2 separate regions of the Homo sapiens genome follow, and region 2 is linked to region 1. Evidence: promoter capture Hi-C in human tissues and cell types (Jung and others, 2019). All regions are on one chromosome and are shown on one strand. The core of a region is centred on a gene start or on the middle of the fragment in contact, and the rest is flanking DNA. Distances in the headings are between cores, read along the strand shown. Region 1 holds the start of ASXL3 (ASXL transcriptional regulator 3). Region 2 overlaps ASXL3 (ASXL transcriptional regulator 3).

Evidence for each region. The method cuts DNA at HindIII sites, captures the fragments that hold promoters and counts their contacts. A contact is called where the count stands out against the background at its distance.
Region 2: a contact is called between a fragment that was not itself captured here and the fragment with the promoter of ASXL3 in region 1, in 1 of the 25 tissues and cell types used here (bladder).

Annotation. Positions count from the first base shown.
Region 1 is chr18:33,575,765-33,579,967 of GRCh38, forward strand. ASXL3 (ASXL transcriptional regulator 3) reads left to right here and starts at 2,455. Exons shown (of 12, transcript NM_030632.3): 1 at 2,455-2,921. The coding sequence starts at 2,868. RefSeq lists enhancers at 1,795-2,783, 2,784-3,771. The HindIII fragment of the contact is 10,160 bases long and covers 1-4,203 here.
Region 2 is chr18:33,722,369-33,726,571 of GRCh38, forward strand. All of the region lies in intron 8 of ASXL3 (ASXL transcriptional regulator 3), which reads left to right. Among named protein-coding and RNA genes, the nearest start is that of ASXL3, 150 kb to the left of the region's middle. The HindIII fragment of the contact is 5,250 bases long and covers 1-4,203 here.

The DNA.
Region 1 (4,203 bases), core at 1,205-3,704:
TATATGTGATCTGATATGAATTTAATTGAATGTAAGCAGTGCTTGGTAGTTGTCATCTATCTAATTTAATATTTTCCTAGTTTTCAATTGTCCTGACTGACCTTTATTGCATTTGTGTTTGAAAAAGCTTTTCTCCATTCCTACAAGTGTGAATATTCAAATCCTACCCATTCCTCAAATCCCACCTGAAAACTTCTCTTTACTAAAGCTTTATTTAATCTCCCCAGCAGAGTTATTTCTCCCATTAATTTTCACAGAAATTTACTTGTACATTTCTTATAATGTATTTCACTTTATGTTGAAAAGCTATTCATATAATTTACCAAATTATAAAACATCTGTAATTGATTAATCTATTTCCTGCCCCCTGACACAAAGTAAATGTAGAAGAAAGAAGTCTAACAATGGTCTCTTGGAAATGGTGCTCTGTAAAATATGTTAATTTGACATAGACTATTCACCAAGTCTTTAACCAGACTTACCTGCTATGGACTATTTATATTCAAGTACCCAAAAGGTGAGGTAGAATCTAAGAGTGAGTTCATAAGATTGGTTATTTATACTTAGCTCTCTGTCAGAGAATGAATGCATAAACAATAGCTTTTTTTTTAAAACATCAATTTACATCTGCTTAAGTAGGACAATATATTTTCTCTTAATAACCAGAAATTGGCCTTCCTGTGAAATAACTGAATATGTATGTTTTCCTTTAGCTGGCTCCAAAACTCCTTATTAAGCACTATTTCACAGAAAATAACAAATTATATGTTATGTCTGATTGCTTAAAATAGGTATTTCTGAGTAGAAGAAAAAACACTAGAATGAAAATACTTTGAAAATATATCAATTACTTTAGCCATAAAGAGAATTCTGGAAAATAAAAGCAGATGTGAACGTGATTCAAATTTAATATATTTGAAATGTAAAGTAAAAATATAATACACCTGGATAGAATTATGCAAATTGCATGGATAAAATTTTCCCCTAGGGATAACTTCAGCGTGTTCTCTAAATCCATTTTAAAAAAAGAAAAAGTGCAGATAATCTTTTGATATTTTCTAAAACTGATGCATAGTCTTTTCTCAGTCTAATGAATTAATAAAACAAATATTCTAAAAGAATTATCATATGCAGCTCTTTATGATTATGAACTGTCTCTGTTTAATTTTTGGTAATCAAACATTTTTATTACTCCAATCATTTGACAGTGCTCTCAAAGGAATCACCTTACTATAATTGTTCTCATTCTGAGACATAAATCTCTTCATTAGATGTAAGTGTTCATTTTTTAGACAAGACTATTTTTAAACAGGCAGTATAGAATTGAATAAACAACATGAGATTAGGGTCAAAAGACTTGAATTATTAAAAATGATTTAGCAAGATATCTTGGATACATTGTCATGTTTTTGAGTTTCATTTCCTCATTTGTACAGTAGAGGGGAAATATATGTTTAACTGAGCTGTTTTGGGGATCAAACGATATAATGTGTATGAAAAAACACAAAGTACTATTTATATACCATTAATATCCTATTCAGGAAATAACTTCAGAAAAATAATCCAGTAGAAGTGACCTTTTTGTTTTCAGATACTCAAGACAAATACACATAATTACTGTGTGGGTCACAGCGTCATTTTTTTCTTTGCTTAAATAACTCTACTGACCCAAACAATTCACTAGAGATGTATGAAGTTGGAAAGATTACCATAAACTTTTAAGTCTTAACATATTTTTTGGTAGTTCGCTAATAAGGATAACAATCCAACACTTCATGTATCCCAGACCTGAAAATTATAATTTAAAAAATACACAAGCGTTAGCTTTTCAGTTTTTTCCATGTGCATCATGTTTTACTCTACAGAATGTTGACTACACGCTGTTTAAATATAATTAGCCCTACGGTATGGCATCGCGTGGATCCACGGTGACGGCTCTTTGGTCCTGCATTGTTTGAGATGCTGTAGGTGGTTCAACATTGTGTTAAGTTGCACGTACATTATTAGTTCTGTATCCGAAGACACTGGCTCTGTACCCTTTCAACAAGGCTCTGGGAGTTCCCCCAGCCAAGCAGAGACAGGGTTAAGGCAGTCCAACAGAGGAGAGTAGTGCGGTGTGTGTGTGAGTGAGTGTGCACGCGTGAGCGCACAGGACAGAGGCGTCGAGGTGCGGGGCGGACTCCTACACAAGTTCCAAAGGCCACCGTGTCCGCGGCTTTCGGCCTGAGCGGGACAGCGGGAAGCGGGTGGAACGGCCTGCACGGAGTGGGCAGCGCCCCAGGAATTTGGGGGCTGAGTTGGAGGGAGAGGGGTCTCGCGAGGGTTTCAGGGCGTGGCTGGAGTAGGGGGCGCGCGGCGAGTGTGCACGGGTGTGCGCGCGCGAGAGGGCGAGTGTGAGCGCGGCGAGTGTGAGCGCGGTGAGTGTGCGGCCGCGTCGCCATTCCCCGTGACGTCAGAGTGTATTGTTGTGAGCGGGGCCGAGCGGAGCATCCCCGGAGCTGTCACCGCAGCGGCCGCGGCGGTGGCGCAGCGCGAGCCCCGCACGAGCGAGCCCGGCCGGCGCCGCCCCCGCCCCTGGCCCGGGCCCCGCTGCTGCCGCCGCCCCCGCCCCCGGCCCGCCCGCCGCGCGCCGCCGCCGCCGCCGTCGCGCGCCCCCACCCACTCCACCCCACCCCCTCGCTCCATCCCTCCCACCCGCCGCCGCCGCCGCCGCCGCCGCCGCCGCCGCCGCCGCCACCGCCCGCGCGCCTCCCCCCGCGGAGCGAGTGCGGGTCACCGGGTCACTGGGTCATTGTCTCCGCGCCCGAACCCCGAGCACCCCGTGGAATCCCCCACGTCATCATCAGAACCATCAATGAGATGCAAACATGAAAGACAAGAGGAAGAAGAAGGACCGCACCTGGGCCGAGGCTGCCCGCCTGGTACGTACCGCCCCCCACACGCCGCCCGCGCCTCCCGCCGGCCCCGCCGCTCGCCCCGCGCCGGTCCGCGGCGGCGGAGACGGCCACTTCCAGCCCGAGCCGCCGCCCGCTCGCCGGGCTCCTGCTCTTTGTTATTCTGCGGGAGTGGGCTCGCCCGGGGGCCCCTGTGTGTGTGCGTGCGCGCGCGGAGGGGCGCAGCGATTATCTCCGGGAGCCCCGCGTCCGGGACCGCCCGGGACACTTCTCCCCGTACTTCGCTCTCGGGGCTCTGCTGTGCCTTCTCCACGGGTGAATTTCCGAGCGCTCGGCGCAGCTCGACTTCCCTCTCTGCCGCTCCGGAGACCTTTGTGTGGCAATTACCACTCCCTCCCGGCCCCTCCACCCCCCGGAATTTCATCAATAACTCTGTGCACAGTCTGTGTGTATGTTCGGCGTTTGTGAGTTCAAACATTTTACACGTGCATGCATGGTGTGTGTCCGACACGGACTTGTGGGGCGTGTGCATGTGGGCTAGGTGGTTGCGTGTCTGTGTGCCATGTCGTGTGCATTATGTGTGCACACTGATACGTGCATGTTTTGTGTGGCTCCAGTTCGTTTGTGTTTGTAGGTATTGTGCTCTGCTCGATGTTTGTGTGTACATTCTGTGCACGTGTGTGCAATTTGTGAGTGTGTTTCGGGTGTGTGTGTGTTTGGTGAAGTTGGGTCAGTGTCATTTGTAGTGGGAGGTTATTAAGAGTGTACAGCTAGGTGTATTTTACTGCTGGCTTCCTGGGCGGTGTTACTTGGCTGCTTTTCCTTTTCTTTAACCTTTCGGAGCTTACGTTTTAATCATCGAAAGAATGTCTCTATAGAAATGCCGGTTGGCAGAGGGGCGTCGGCGTCTTTGGTTTGATGCATGTATATGTGTGGGTTTTTCTTTTCTTTCTTTCTTTTTTCTTCCTATCTTCTTTTAAAGGACAGCTGTAAAAGGATTTTTCAAAAGGATATTTCTGTACAGTGTGTCTCGGGAATGCCAGGCATTACATTTGAAGCTAAGCCTTTCAGGGTTTTGGCTGCATAAATTAAACATTTATTCGCCAGCTTACTATCTGTTATAAATTGGCCAAAAGAAAGCAGACTGCATGCAGCGGGGGTTTTGGGAGGGGGGAGCAGGACGTGTTATTGGGTTGACTTTGTAAAGATTGTTTTACTGTAACTGTAGTCATTTTGAAAAGCATTTGAGTAACTACATTATGCTCAAGGAGAACATTTGTCAAAAGTAATTATCTGAGTTTGGTTGAAG
Region 2 (4,203 bases), core at 745-3,244, 150 kb after region 1:
GGGTAATTAAAAGTGCTACTGCACTGAACACACAAATGATGAGAAAGTGAAACACCTTTATTGTTGATATGGAGGAAGTTTTAGTGGTCTGGCTAGAAGATCAAATCAGCCACAATATTCCTTTAAGCCAGAGCCTACTATAGAGCAAGCCCCTAACTCTTTTTTATTCTCTGAAAGCTTGGAGAGGTGAAGATGTGCTAGAAGGGAACTTGGAAGCTAACAGAGATTAGCTCATGAGGCTTAAGGAAAGAAGCCATCTCTATAACCTAAAAGTGCAAGGTGAAACGGCAGTGGCTGATGTAGAAGCCACAGCAAGTTATTCAGAAGACCTAGCTAAGATTATTGATGAAGGTGGCTATGTTAAACAACAGATTTTCAATGTAGATGAAATTGGAAAAAGATGCCATTGGGCTTTTATAGCTAGAGAGGAGAAGTCAATGCCTGGCTTGAAAGGATAGGCTTACCCTTCTGTTAGGTGCTAATGCAGCTGGTGGCTTTAAGTGGAAACCAGTGCTCATTTGCCATTCCAAAAATCCTACAGCCCTTAAGAATTATGCTAAATCTATTCTGCCTTTGCTCTGTAAATGGAACAGTAAAGCCTGAGTGACAGCACATCTGTTTACAACATGGCTTACTGAATATTTTAAGTCCGCTGTTGAGACTTACTGCTCAGAAAAAATATTCTTTTCAAAATATTACTGCTCATTGACAATGCAGTGGGGTCACTGAAGAAGCTGACAGAGATGTAAAAAGAGAATAATGTTTTCATATTACTAATGCAATACCTATTCTGCAGCATATGGATCAAGGAGTAATTTTGACTTTCAAGTCTTATTATTTAAGAAATGCATTTTCTAAGGCTGTGGCTGCCATAGGTAGTGATTCCTCTGATGGTTCTGAGCAAGGTGAATTGAAAGTCTTTTGGAAAGAATTCACCATTCTGGATGCCATTAAGAACATTTGTGATTCGTGGGAGGAGGTCAAAATAGCAACATTAACAGGACTTTGAAAGAAGTTGATTCTGATACTTATAGATGACTTTGAGGAGTTCAAGACTTCAGTGGAGGAAGTCACTGCAGATGTGGTGCAAATAGCAAGAGAACTAGAATTAGAAGTAGAGCCTGAAGATGTGACTGAGTTGTTGCCATCTTAGGATGAAACTTTCACAAGTGAGGGGTTGCTTCTTATGTGCAAAGAAAGTGGTTTCTTGAGATGAAATTGACTCTGGGTTAAGATAGCTGTGAACATCGTTGAAGTAAAAACAAAGGACTTCGAATATTCCATAAGCTTAGTTGATAAAGCAGCGGCAGAGTTTAAGAGAATTGACTCCAATTTTGAAAGACGTTCTGCTATGGGCAAAATGCTATCAAACAGCATCACATGCTACAGATAAGTTTTTTGGGAAAGGAAGAGTCAACTAATGCAGCAAATTTTATTGTCAGCTTATTTTAAGCAATTATCATAGCCATTCCAGCCTTCAGCAGCCACCAGCCACCCTGATCAGTCAGCAGCCATCAACATCCATGCAAGACCCTCCGTCAGCAAAAAGATTATGACTCACTGAAAGCTCAGATTACTGTTATCATTTTAAGTAATAACGTATTTTTAATTAAGGTATGTAAATTGATTTTTAGCATAATGCTATTGTACAGTTAATAGACTACAGTATAGTGATAGCTTTTATATGTACTGGGAAACCAAAACGTTTATGTGACTTACTTTTTTGCAACATTCACTTTATTGTCGTAGTTTGGAACTGAATTTGCAATGTCTTTGTGATATGCCTGTATAACATTTTTTATTGAGTCCTCATATGACTAGATAGAGTCTTGATTACAGCATTATAATCACAATATTTAAAAAATTATTATATATATTAGGACTTTTTTGACAGTGGTTGCAAAGAATTGTTTCCTTCAGTGGCTTTGAACTTGAGGTTGTTCAAGCTTGTAGGTTAAAGTTTATTACATCATCTTTAATATTTTGTCACTATTTATTCTGAATACTTGGTTCTCACAATATTCTCAAAATTGTCCCATTTTCAGATCTTAGAAACTTATATTCATTTGTTAAAGAGGAATATAGTCTCTAGCATGGGGAAATTCATTGTCTCATGCTTATCACATGTGGCTGTTTCTGTCAGTGATACTTTTACAACTCTTAATGCATCAGTTCCCAAACTATTCTGGGGAATAGTTGTTCTATGAGATACTGATGGTTGTTCTGTGAGAGGATTATAAAGTATAAAAGTGTGGGAAATACTGTATAATTTATTCTTCAGAATTTAAAATAAATTTTAGCATATTAGATAATACAGTAAATGAAACTACTTAACCATATTTAATACAGTCAGGCTATATTTATTGTATGGAAGACTGCATTTCTTTTAGATGGATTTACCTATTAAAATACCTATTTTGCAAAACACAATTTTGGTAATATTGTCTTACTGCAATTTTGGAAATATCTTTGAAAAGTTATTTGCAAAATTGTCTTTGGCATATTGCTGATCTATCTCCTTTAGGGAATCCATCCCTTTTAACAGCCTTCTTTCATTTTTATGCCTATCTTTATGTTATTCTAAAGAATAATATTTTCCCTTGTGGATAAATCTTGAGCATGTCTATAGAGTCTCCTGGGCCATCTGAATTATACTTAGTGGTAAGGAAAAAATTAAAATTTACCTTTTAAAGAGAGTCAATACTCTGGCTTTTATTCGTACTGGGATGTAGACTACAAGGGCACTGGGTGCTTGATCATGCAGGGTATAAGTGGCTCAATGATAACAGCATATGATGGTTCATATGCTCATTGCTCTTTTGTATTGTATTAGACTCCTGATTAGTGTCTCACTGTCTGGGTTGTCTTTGCTCTAAAGATCCTATTGATTTTTGTATTGGACACAACAGCTAATGTACTATACTGCACACACTGTTTACCTTAGTAATGCTAAAAGGCTTGATAGATATTAGCACATCCACAATACAGATCACCTTCTGCAAACACATTCTTCCCTTACACCTATCAATATGATGCCACTTGCTCCGATTTTCTTCCTACCTCTTTCTACTTTTGCTTAGTCTTCCTAACAGGATCTACTTTACCTCCTCATTCCTGTTACATTAGTATTCCTCAGGACTCTGCTTTAAGCCACCTTCTCTTTTGGTAAATATTCTTCCAATGTTCTCATCTATACCCATGTTTCCAACTACACTTTATTTGCTAATCATTCCTATTTGAAAACAATATTTACCATTGAGCATCTTGCCCTATTCTCAGTTACTGACTAGACATCTTTATTTGGATGCCATCAAGATATCCTTACATCAACATATCCAAAGCCTTCATTTCTTGTTTCTAAATACTGTTTCCCTCTTGTGCCTTTTCCTGTTCTGATGTTTGGTGCCAGCATGTACTCAGTTAGCAAGCCTTATTCCTGGGAAGCATCTTCCACATCTTTTTGTCTCATCTTTCTCAGCCCCAGTGATCACTCAGTGCCATCAATTCTGGTTTGTATACTTATCTTGAATATTCTCCTTCCTCTCTGTTTCCTCTACCTGAACAATCTTAAGACTTTTCATCATTGGTTCCGCTTGCTCTTGATGCTAGTTAACAGAAATCCCTGTCTTAGTCTTGCCTTTGTCCAGGGCATCCTCTACACTGCAGTAGGAGTAACATATGGAAGACATCTACTGGGAATTATAATCAGCATCTCAACCTGATGTAGTGCTAAAACAAACCTCCTCTGCCTATAGTCTTGTCTTTTAAAAACTAATTAGCAGTTTTCTACGTTTCATTCCTAAGTCCAAAAATTCTTGATATCAGCCTTGCCTGCCCTCTTTCATACCACACATTTAATCTATCATCAAATTATGCTGGCTCAACCTTCAGGATGTAATCAGAACCTAACCATTTCACGCTGCCTCCAGTGCGGTTATCCCAGTCCAAGCTACTATCATTTTTTTCCTGGATTATTGTAAACCCTATATACTAGTGTTCCTGGTAGATCTTTATCTGCTAAAGCTATGCTGTCTAGTACAATAGCCACTAGCCACTTGAGGCTTTTGAGAACTAGAAATACGGCTCACTAGAATATGAAATGAGATGTGCTATTAAAAAGATCCACTGGATATTGAAGAATTCATATTCAAAGAGAATGTAAAATATCTCATTAACAATATTTTATATTGAATATATGTTGAA